2 separate regions of the Homo sapiens genome follow, and region 1 is linked to region 2. Evidence: promoter capture Hi-C in 16 types of primary human blood cells and fetal thymus (Javierre and others, 2016). All regions are on one chromosome and are shown on one strand. The core of a region is centred on a gene start or on the middle of the fragment in contact, and the rest is flanking DNA. Distances in the headings are between cores, read along the strand shown. Region 1 overlaps ABHD6 (abhydrolase domain containing 6, acylglycerol lipase). Region 2 holds the start of FLNB (filamin B).

What was found. Contacts are between HindIII fragments. The CHiCAGO score rates a contact against its expected background, and 5 or more counts as called.
Region 1: a fragment that was not itself captured here is called in contact with the fragment with the promoter of FLNB in region 2 in 2 of 17 cell types (M1 macrophages and naive B cells); the score reaches 6.4 in M1 macrophages.

What each region holds. Positions count from the first base shown.
Region 1 is chr3:58,282,754-58,287,096 of GRCh38, reverse strand. ABHD6 (abhydrolase domain containing 6, acylglycerol lipase) reads right to left here. Exons shown (of 10, transcript NM_001320126.2): 8 at 1,958-2,012; 9 at 1,644-1,744. Among named protein-coding and RNA genes, the nearest start is that of RPP14, 21 kb to the left of the region's middle. The HindIII fragment of the contact is 1,880 bases long and covers 322-2,201 here.
Region 2 is chr3:58,006,419-58,010,355 of GRCh38, reverse strand. It overlaps FLNB (filamin B), which reads right to left and starts at 1,934. Exons shown (of 46, transcript NM_001457.4): 1 at 1,500-1,934. The coding sequence starts at 1,791. The HindIII fragment of the contact is 11,042 bases long and covers 1-3,937 here.

The DNA of each region.
Region 1 (4,343 bases), core at 12-2,511, 280 kb before region 2:
CTATGCTGCCCAGGTTGGTCTCAAACTCCTGGGCTCAAGCAATCCTCCTGCCTTAGCCTCCCAAAGTGCTGGCATTATAGGCGTAAGCCACCATGCCTGGCCTTCTTTCAAATTTTCTGTAAGTTTGAAATTATTTCAAGATAAAATTTTTTTAAGAATAGAAGGAATAGATTTGTTTGGGCTGATATAAAATGATTTCCAAGATACCTACTTATATATACATATACATATATATATATATATACACACACACACACACACACACACACACACATATATGATCTTATATATCTTATATGCACACCTATATATATCTAAGCTTTCAAACATGCATCTTAGATGCCAGTGTATCTAGCATGTTTGAAAGCTCAGATATGTATAGGTATGCATATATATACACTATACGTGTGCTTAGAATAGGAGTAGGCAAACAATGGCTCACTGCCCGTTTTTATAAATAAAGGTTCACTGGAAAAAGCCATGCCATTTGTTTACATATTGCCTATGGCTGCTTTTATACTATAAGGTCACAGTTACTCAACTGTGTCCAGGTGTGACAGAGACTGGACCACAAGGCTGAAAATGTTTACCATCTGGCCCTTTACAGAAAACATTTGCTAACTTCTGGCTTAAAAAATTTAGGCCAAGCATGTTGGCTCATGCTTGTAATCCCAGCACTTTGGGAGGCTAAGGAAGGTGGACTGCTTGAAGTCAGGAGCTCAAGACCAGCCTGGCCAAAATGGTGAAACCCCGTCTCTACTAAAAAAAATACAAAAATTGCCAGGTGTGGTGGCTCACGCCTGTAATCCCAACACTTTGGGAGGCTGAGGCCGGCAGATCATGACGTCAGGAGATCGAGACCATCCTGGCTAACATGGTGAAACCCCGTCTCTACTAAAAATACAAAAAATTAGCTGGGCATGGTGGCGGGTGCCTGTAGTCCCAGCTACTTGAGAGGCTGAGGCAGGAGAATGGCGTGAACCCAGGAGGCAGAGCTTGCAGTGAGCCGAGATTGTGCCACTGCACTCCAGCCTGGGTAACAGAGCAAGACTTCGTCTAAAAAAAAAAAAACAAAAGAACAAAAAACAAAAATTAGGTGAGCATGGTGGAGGGCACCTGTAATCCCAGCTACTTGGGAGGCTGAGGCAGGAGAATCGCTTGAACCTGGGAGGCAGAAGTTGCAGTGAGCCAAGATTGGGCCACTGCACTCCAGCCTGGGTGACAGAGCAAGACTCCGTCTCAAACGAAAAAAAGAAAAGAAATATATTCAAGATAGTAAGATAAGAGTTGCCTCATGGTAATGGAGAATGGAATTTGGGATGCGAAAAAGAAAAGTTTTCATTATAAACCTTTTGGTGTTCTTTGAAGATCTTTTTATACCATGTGACTACATGGCTTTGATAAAAACAATTTTTGAAAATGATTTAAAATTGTCTTTCCTTTTACCAGACCAAATGTTGTTTCTCTCCACTCCCAGAACTCTGCCCACTGTCAACACTGGCACCCAACACAGGTGCCTTCCCCCTCTTCCTGACAGCAGCGATCAGCTCACTCCATAAATAACCACTTGTTCTTCCTCAAGGACGTTTTTCCTCAGAGGCCCTGGTGACCAGCACAGACTGCCGCGGGGATGTGTTACATACCTGGTCTTGTTTCCCCCAGATGATCTGCGTCGGAACCTTGATCTTGTCCATGTTCTGATGGAGAGAGTATCTGGACTTCTCACTGACGATTTCCAAAAACACTTGTCAGAAAAGGAAAACAAAGTGAGTATGTGCTGGACTGTGCCTGTGGCACCACCGCAGAATCAAGGGATAGTCACCAGATCCAGGCCACCACTTCCTCTCTTCAGGGGCCCAAAGAGACATTCAAAGTGTCAGAGATTTAAGAAATAAAAGCCATCCATCCACAGAGCTTCACTTGTAACAAGCTCCAAGCTGAAAGTAGGGCTACTTACACTTTCGGTAGAAGTTGTTATGAGGGATGCGGACATCGACAAGGCCTTGCAGGATCTAAGGATAAATAACCCAAAGTTAGAGAGCAAGAGAAGATTCATTTCCTCAGGCCTCTCACAGCTCTGGGACAATGAATGGGAATGAGGTCCAGCAATTTATTGCACTGTCAAGGTCTTTAGAGCCTGGTCCTCTGAATTCCCATGATGCAGCACACAGTCTAATGGGGAGTTAGGCTTCTAAGAAGCTTTTTATTATTATTATTATTATAAAGGAACTTGGGTAATATCGTGAAACTGGAGGTGCCCTACAGCATGTTAAATACACCTGAGATGGCCTGACAGCAACTTTAGCTTGAGAGATTCTCTGCTTCACTTAAGACATAATCAGGATGGGCCGGGCATGGTGGCTCATGCCTGTAATCCCAGCACTTCAGGAGGCCAAGGCGGGCAGATCACTTGAGGCCAGGAGTTCAAGACCAGCCTGGCCAAATGGTGAAACCCCCATCTCTACTAAAAAGACAAAAACTAGCAGGATGTGATGGTGCAGGCCTGTAATCCCATCTACTCGGGAGGCTGAGGCAGGAGAATCACTTGAACCCAGGAGGCGGAGGTTGCAGTGAGCTGAGATTGCGCCACTGCACTCCAACCTGGGCGACAGTGAGACTCTATCTCAAAAAAAAAAAAAAGACATAATGAGGATGACCATAATATCAAGTAATTCGCCAGTAATATCCAAACGCAGAACAAGTTCCATTAAAAAAATTAAGCCACTGGGGGATGATAGGTCTATTAAACAACAAAGAAATAAACTATTGAAAAGATTCTGGGGAGGGTTCCACAGTCCCACTGGGAGGGTTCAACAGCCCTTTGTTTATCATTTGACACTGTCTTTGCCTTCCCTGCTGAGGGCTGGTGAGGGCTGCAGCCAATGTGGACAGGCCACATCTTCTGGACCTGGGCTACTGACCCAAAGAGGTAGTGGTGGCTGGAAGGAACACAGTTCTTCTCTTCCTCCTGCCTCAGGACTCCTGAGGTAGAGTACAGGGTTCACATTAGTGGCTGTACTCCTCTACTCCTCTCCTCTACCTGCAAACAGGTCTGAACCCTTTAATTACACTCTCTCAGGAGTCCTGTGCACTGACTGAAAGTGGGGAAGAACCAGCCATGGCTGCTATGGACTAAACCAACCCTCTGGAGCATCACTAGACTCTAACTCATTCAGCCTGGACATGAGGACAATGACAATTTGTTGAATAACAACATTGTGCTCAGCATCAGAGATTTTCTTTGTTCAGCTATCCACCTGTACCCACATATCTATTCATCTTGTGTCCATCCATCCTCCACCTCTGCTCAATGCAGCCATCCATCCTGAACCACATATGCATTTGTCTACCTATCTATCCTGTATTCATCAATCCATCCAACCTCCATCTCTGCATTAACCAGATATCCTCCCATCCATCCATCCATCCAACCATTCAGCCATCTATCCATCCTGCAGACCTAAATCATCTGTGCACTGGCACATCAATCAATTCATGCAAAAATCTATCCTGCATCTACCCACCCATCCATTGTCCATCCCTGCATTATCCAGGCATCCTCTCATCCATCAATCCATCCAATCTATACCTAGGACCTACTTCATGCAAGCACTGTGCTAAAGTCTGGGGATAGAACAGCCAATTAAGACAAAGTCCCTAGTGGAAGACACAGACGTGCAATCACAACACAATATGACATGGTGGGCTGAGTGTGCAGGTGCTCCTTCTCTCCTAGGAAGGAAAGACTTTTGGAGCTGCCATTTATTTTTCTCTTGGTGTTTTCATATCCCTGACAACCCAAAACATGGAGTTTTCTAAAACATCATTTGGCCACTCTATTCTGGGAAGAGATCAGTGCTGGGAGAAAGGAATGCTACTTCATGGCTAAAAAGGGATTTCAGGGGTGGAACATGCCACAGCATCAGATTCTGGGTGTTTCCTGAGGGACAGGCCGTATCTATTAACTGAGCCATGTTCACAACTTCTGAATGGGATCTATTCCCTCAAGTCTTAGGAGGACCTGCCCACCTCCAGGCAGGGTCCAGCTCCTACAACAGAGGGAGATAATTTGGGGTTATGAAGCCTCAGCCATGGACTCTCCTCTCTTGGTTCTTCACACCATTTCCCTAGATGACTTCATTCAGTCCCATAACCTTCAATATTAGCGTCTGCTGATGGCTCCAGTGGTACAGCTTCAGGCCAGACTTCCCTCAGCTACACCTTGACCTCTGCACTTGGAGGCCTCACAGGCAACCTGAACTTAACACATGAAAAATGGAGTCCTTGGCATATTCCCCAAGCCTGCCCTTCTACTCTTCAGAATATACTACCTCTGTTTTTGT
Region 2 (3,937 bases), core at 685-3,184:
TGAGGCCCTAAGGCCCAGGGGAGGCTCAGCCTAGAGGGAATCCCTTTTCCACTGGAGAAAGTCCTGGCAGCCACACCCATCTCCCTTTCTTCCTGTCACTAGGGTCACTATAGTGACCTGGTTTCCTCAGGAAGAGACCCAAATCACAGGCCAGGGCCAGTCCCTGGTTCTCCTTAGGAAGAGATCCAGACCCAGAACCCTCCTCTGCCCCAACCCACACCCACCCACCCACATACACACACACACATACACACACCCATACACACGTGTAGGTGGATACACATTCTCTGCATACATTCCGTGTACATGCAAACTCTTTGCATATGCACATGCTATACACACATGCTATGTGTGTACACACGTTCTCTGCACAAACGCCCACATGCACACACACATCACAGCCCCTACCATCACAGCCCACACTATCAGTAGCCTTGTGGCCCTCTGGGAAGCCTCCAACTATCTCAGACCACAAGGGAGACTTCATCCTTATTCTTCCTCCCCAGACCAGAAGGCCCAGTCCAGCAAGAGACACCAATTCCCTCCCTCCTTTCAGGAAGACCCTGGTGTAGGTTTGGGAGAGGAGAGGAAAACAAAGCCTCCTTCTAACTGTTGCCCACTTCCTTCAGTTCTCAGCTGGGCCCTACTTGCTGACCTTGGACAGGTCAATTAACCCTCCGGACCCCCTTATCTGTAAAATGGGTCTAGCCTCACCCCAGATGGCAGGATGCGTAGGGACGGAGATAACTTAGAAGGCTGACGGTACACAGTGGACGCTAGTTGGGCTCCCTACAAGACAGCAATTACTGTTACCACCACCATCTCTAAATTATAACTTCGGCAGCAAGGAGTGGGTTCAACCTGCGGCGCGCGGCCAGAGCTGAGCTGGGAGCAGAGAGAGCGAGGACACACACCCGCGCCTACCCTTGCAACCTCGGGGCCCACACCCATTCCAGCGACGGCAGGGGAAGGTACCAGGTCTCTGTCTCCACCTGGGCAGGGAGGCCCCAGGCGCAGAGAACGGTTCCTCCTCAGGTCTCACGGCCCGGCCTCCGAGCCAACGCCCATTCAGCTGCCTCTGAGAGCACCAACCTGGGCGCAGCAGGGAGAGCACTCCGCGGAGCATCTGACCCTAGGGCCCGCCCCCGGGGACAGCGAACGAGGGTTTCTAGTCCCCTAGCTCCCATAGGGGCGCCCCAGGTGTAGAGAAATGCAACAACTCCACCTCTCCTCCTGTGACCCCAGCCCAAACCCTCAACCCTTAGCCAGCCAAAGGTGCACTGCTGGGGCGGATGGCGGGGAGCGATCACAACAGGTCCCATCCCAGGGGAAGACACCGGGGAGGGGGTCTAGGCCCCCTATAACCCACCCCTGGGGACGACTCCCCCTTATCTCCGAGGTGGGGGCGCGCTGCGGGAAATCCTCGCCCTCCGCAGGGGTGCACGCGCGGGGGCGGGTCGGCACCACAGTGGGCGCCTGGGCCCGGCCAGAGAACTCACCGATGGACACGAGCTTGATGCTCTCACGGTCCAGGAACTCGAGCGCCACGGACACATTCTCGAGCTGCATCTGGCGAAAGGTGGGCCGCTGATGGTACTTGCGGTACATGCGCTTCTGGCTGAGCACCTCGAGCAGCGCGATGAGCCGCAGCCCGTCGCTCAGGTCGGTCTGCAGGTTGCCGATGCGTTTGTTCACGCACTTGAGGTGCTCGTTGCACCAGCGTGTGAACGTGTTCTGCTGGATCTTCTTCCAAGGCGCGTCCTCAGCTAGATCCTTCTCGGTTACCGGCATCCTGGTGGCGGGGAGAGCGCAATGCGCAACGAGCTGCCGGGGACTGGTGTTTGGAGGCCCAAGGGCCGAAGGAGCGAGAACCGAAGCGGAGCGGGAGCGGGGTTCGAACTTGCTGCTACCGGAGCCACGGCCGGTGCTGCTCTGCGGCCGCCCGCCCCTGGCCGCGCGAGGCGCCTGGCCCCGCGCCTGCGCGCTGAGCCGCCCCGCCCCCAAGCCCCGCCCCGTCCCGACCCTCCCGCGGGAGTTCCTGGGCCACGCTCGCCTCCTGCCGCCTGCCGCAGGCACTGCGCCCCACTGCGTCCTGGGACCCGCGCTCGAAGCCCACCACCCCAGCAGGATGTAGGGCTGCCTGAATCACCCGGTCAGCCCCGGGGTGGGGGGACCCGCGGGGGCTGGGAGCCGGACAGAATGGGTCGGGCCTCAGTGGGACTTGCGGGAGGGGCGCGCGGGGCGGAGGTCTTCATCCACATATAGATTGAATAAAATTCAGTAAGGGCTTTTATTGAGCTCCGCCTGTGTACCAGCCATTCTTCTCAGAGCCTGCTAACCAGTAGTAAATCAGACAAACGTATTGCACAACCTCAAGGAGTTCACACAGCCTAATGGAAGAGAAAAGTGTAATTCCACCATAACCAACAGCCCAGTAGTGGTGGTAAAAATGAACAATAAGGCTTGTTGCATGTCTTAGTTTCCAGTTACTGCTGTAACAAGTTACCAAAACTTAGTGTCTTTGAAAACACACACCCACAAATGTATTATCCTTCAGTTCTGTAGGTTCGATGGCCCACACAGGTCTTGCTGAGCTAAAAACAAAGTGTTGGCAGGATGCATTCCCTTCTGGAGGCTGTAGGGAAGAATCTGTTTCCTTGTGTTTTCTAACTTCCAGAAGCTGCCTGCGCGCCTGACTCCTGCCCCTTTTCTCTGTGAAAGCCTGCAATGGGCTGGGCACAATGGCTCACACCTGTAATCCCAGCACTTTGGGAGGCCAAGGTGGGTGGATCACCTGAGGTCAGGAGTTCGAGACCAGCCTGGCCAACATGGTAAAACCCCATCTCTACTTAAAATACAAAAATTAGCCAGGTGTGGTGGCGCGTACCTGTAATCCCAGCTACTGGGAAGGCTGAGATAGGAGAATCGCTTGAACCTGGGAGGCAGAGGTTACAGTGAGCTGAGATGGTGCCATTGCACTCCAGCCTGGGCGACAGAGCAAAACTCCGTCTCAAAAAAAAAAAAAAAAAAAAAAAAAACAGAAAAGCAAGCCTGCAATGTCAGGTGGAGTCTCTCAGACCTCAGACAGTCCTCTCTCCATAGGCACATCTTCCTTTTTTTTTTTTTTCCTGCGATGGAGTCTTACTCCGTTGCCCAGGCTAGAGTCCAGTGGTGCAATCTCGGCTCACTGCAACCTCCTCCTCCTGGGTTCAAGCAATTCTCTTGCCTCAACCTCCTGAGTGGCTGGGATTACAGGCACCCGCCACCACGCTCCGCTAATTTTTGTATTTTTAATAGAGACGGGCTTTCACCATGTTGGCCAGGCTGGTCTTGAACTCCTGACCTCAAGCGATCCACCAGCCTCTGCCTCCCAAAGTGATGGGATTACAGGCATGAGCCACCTTGCCCAGCCTTTTTTTTGTCTCACTCCGTCTCCCAAACTGGAGTGCTATGACTCAATCTCGGCTCCCTGCAGCTTCAACCTCCCCACACCTGGCCCTTTTAAGGACTCTTAAGATGACATTGGGCCAGCTGGTTAGTCCAACATGATCTCCCTATTTTAAAATCAGCCGATTAAGAACCCTAATCCTGTTTGCAACCTTAATTCCCCTTTGCCATTTAAGGGAATGTTCACAGGTCCTGAGAGTTAGGATGTGAACGTCTTTGGGGGCTATTACTCTGCCTACCACAGCATACATTGAGCACTTACTCTGTACTCATCCAGGTTCTGTGCTAGGTTCTGAGATATGGCAGAGTCTCAGGCCAGCCCTCTGTTGATAAAAGCCTGAATAATTACAACAGCAAGCATTGAATGAACACCTGCTGTTCCTCTGTGCCAAGCACAGTGCAAAGCAATTTCTTTCAAGTCGGGTGCAGTGGCTCACACCTGTAATCCCAGCACCTTGGGAGGCCAAGGTGGGCAGATCACCTGAGGTCA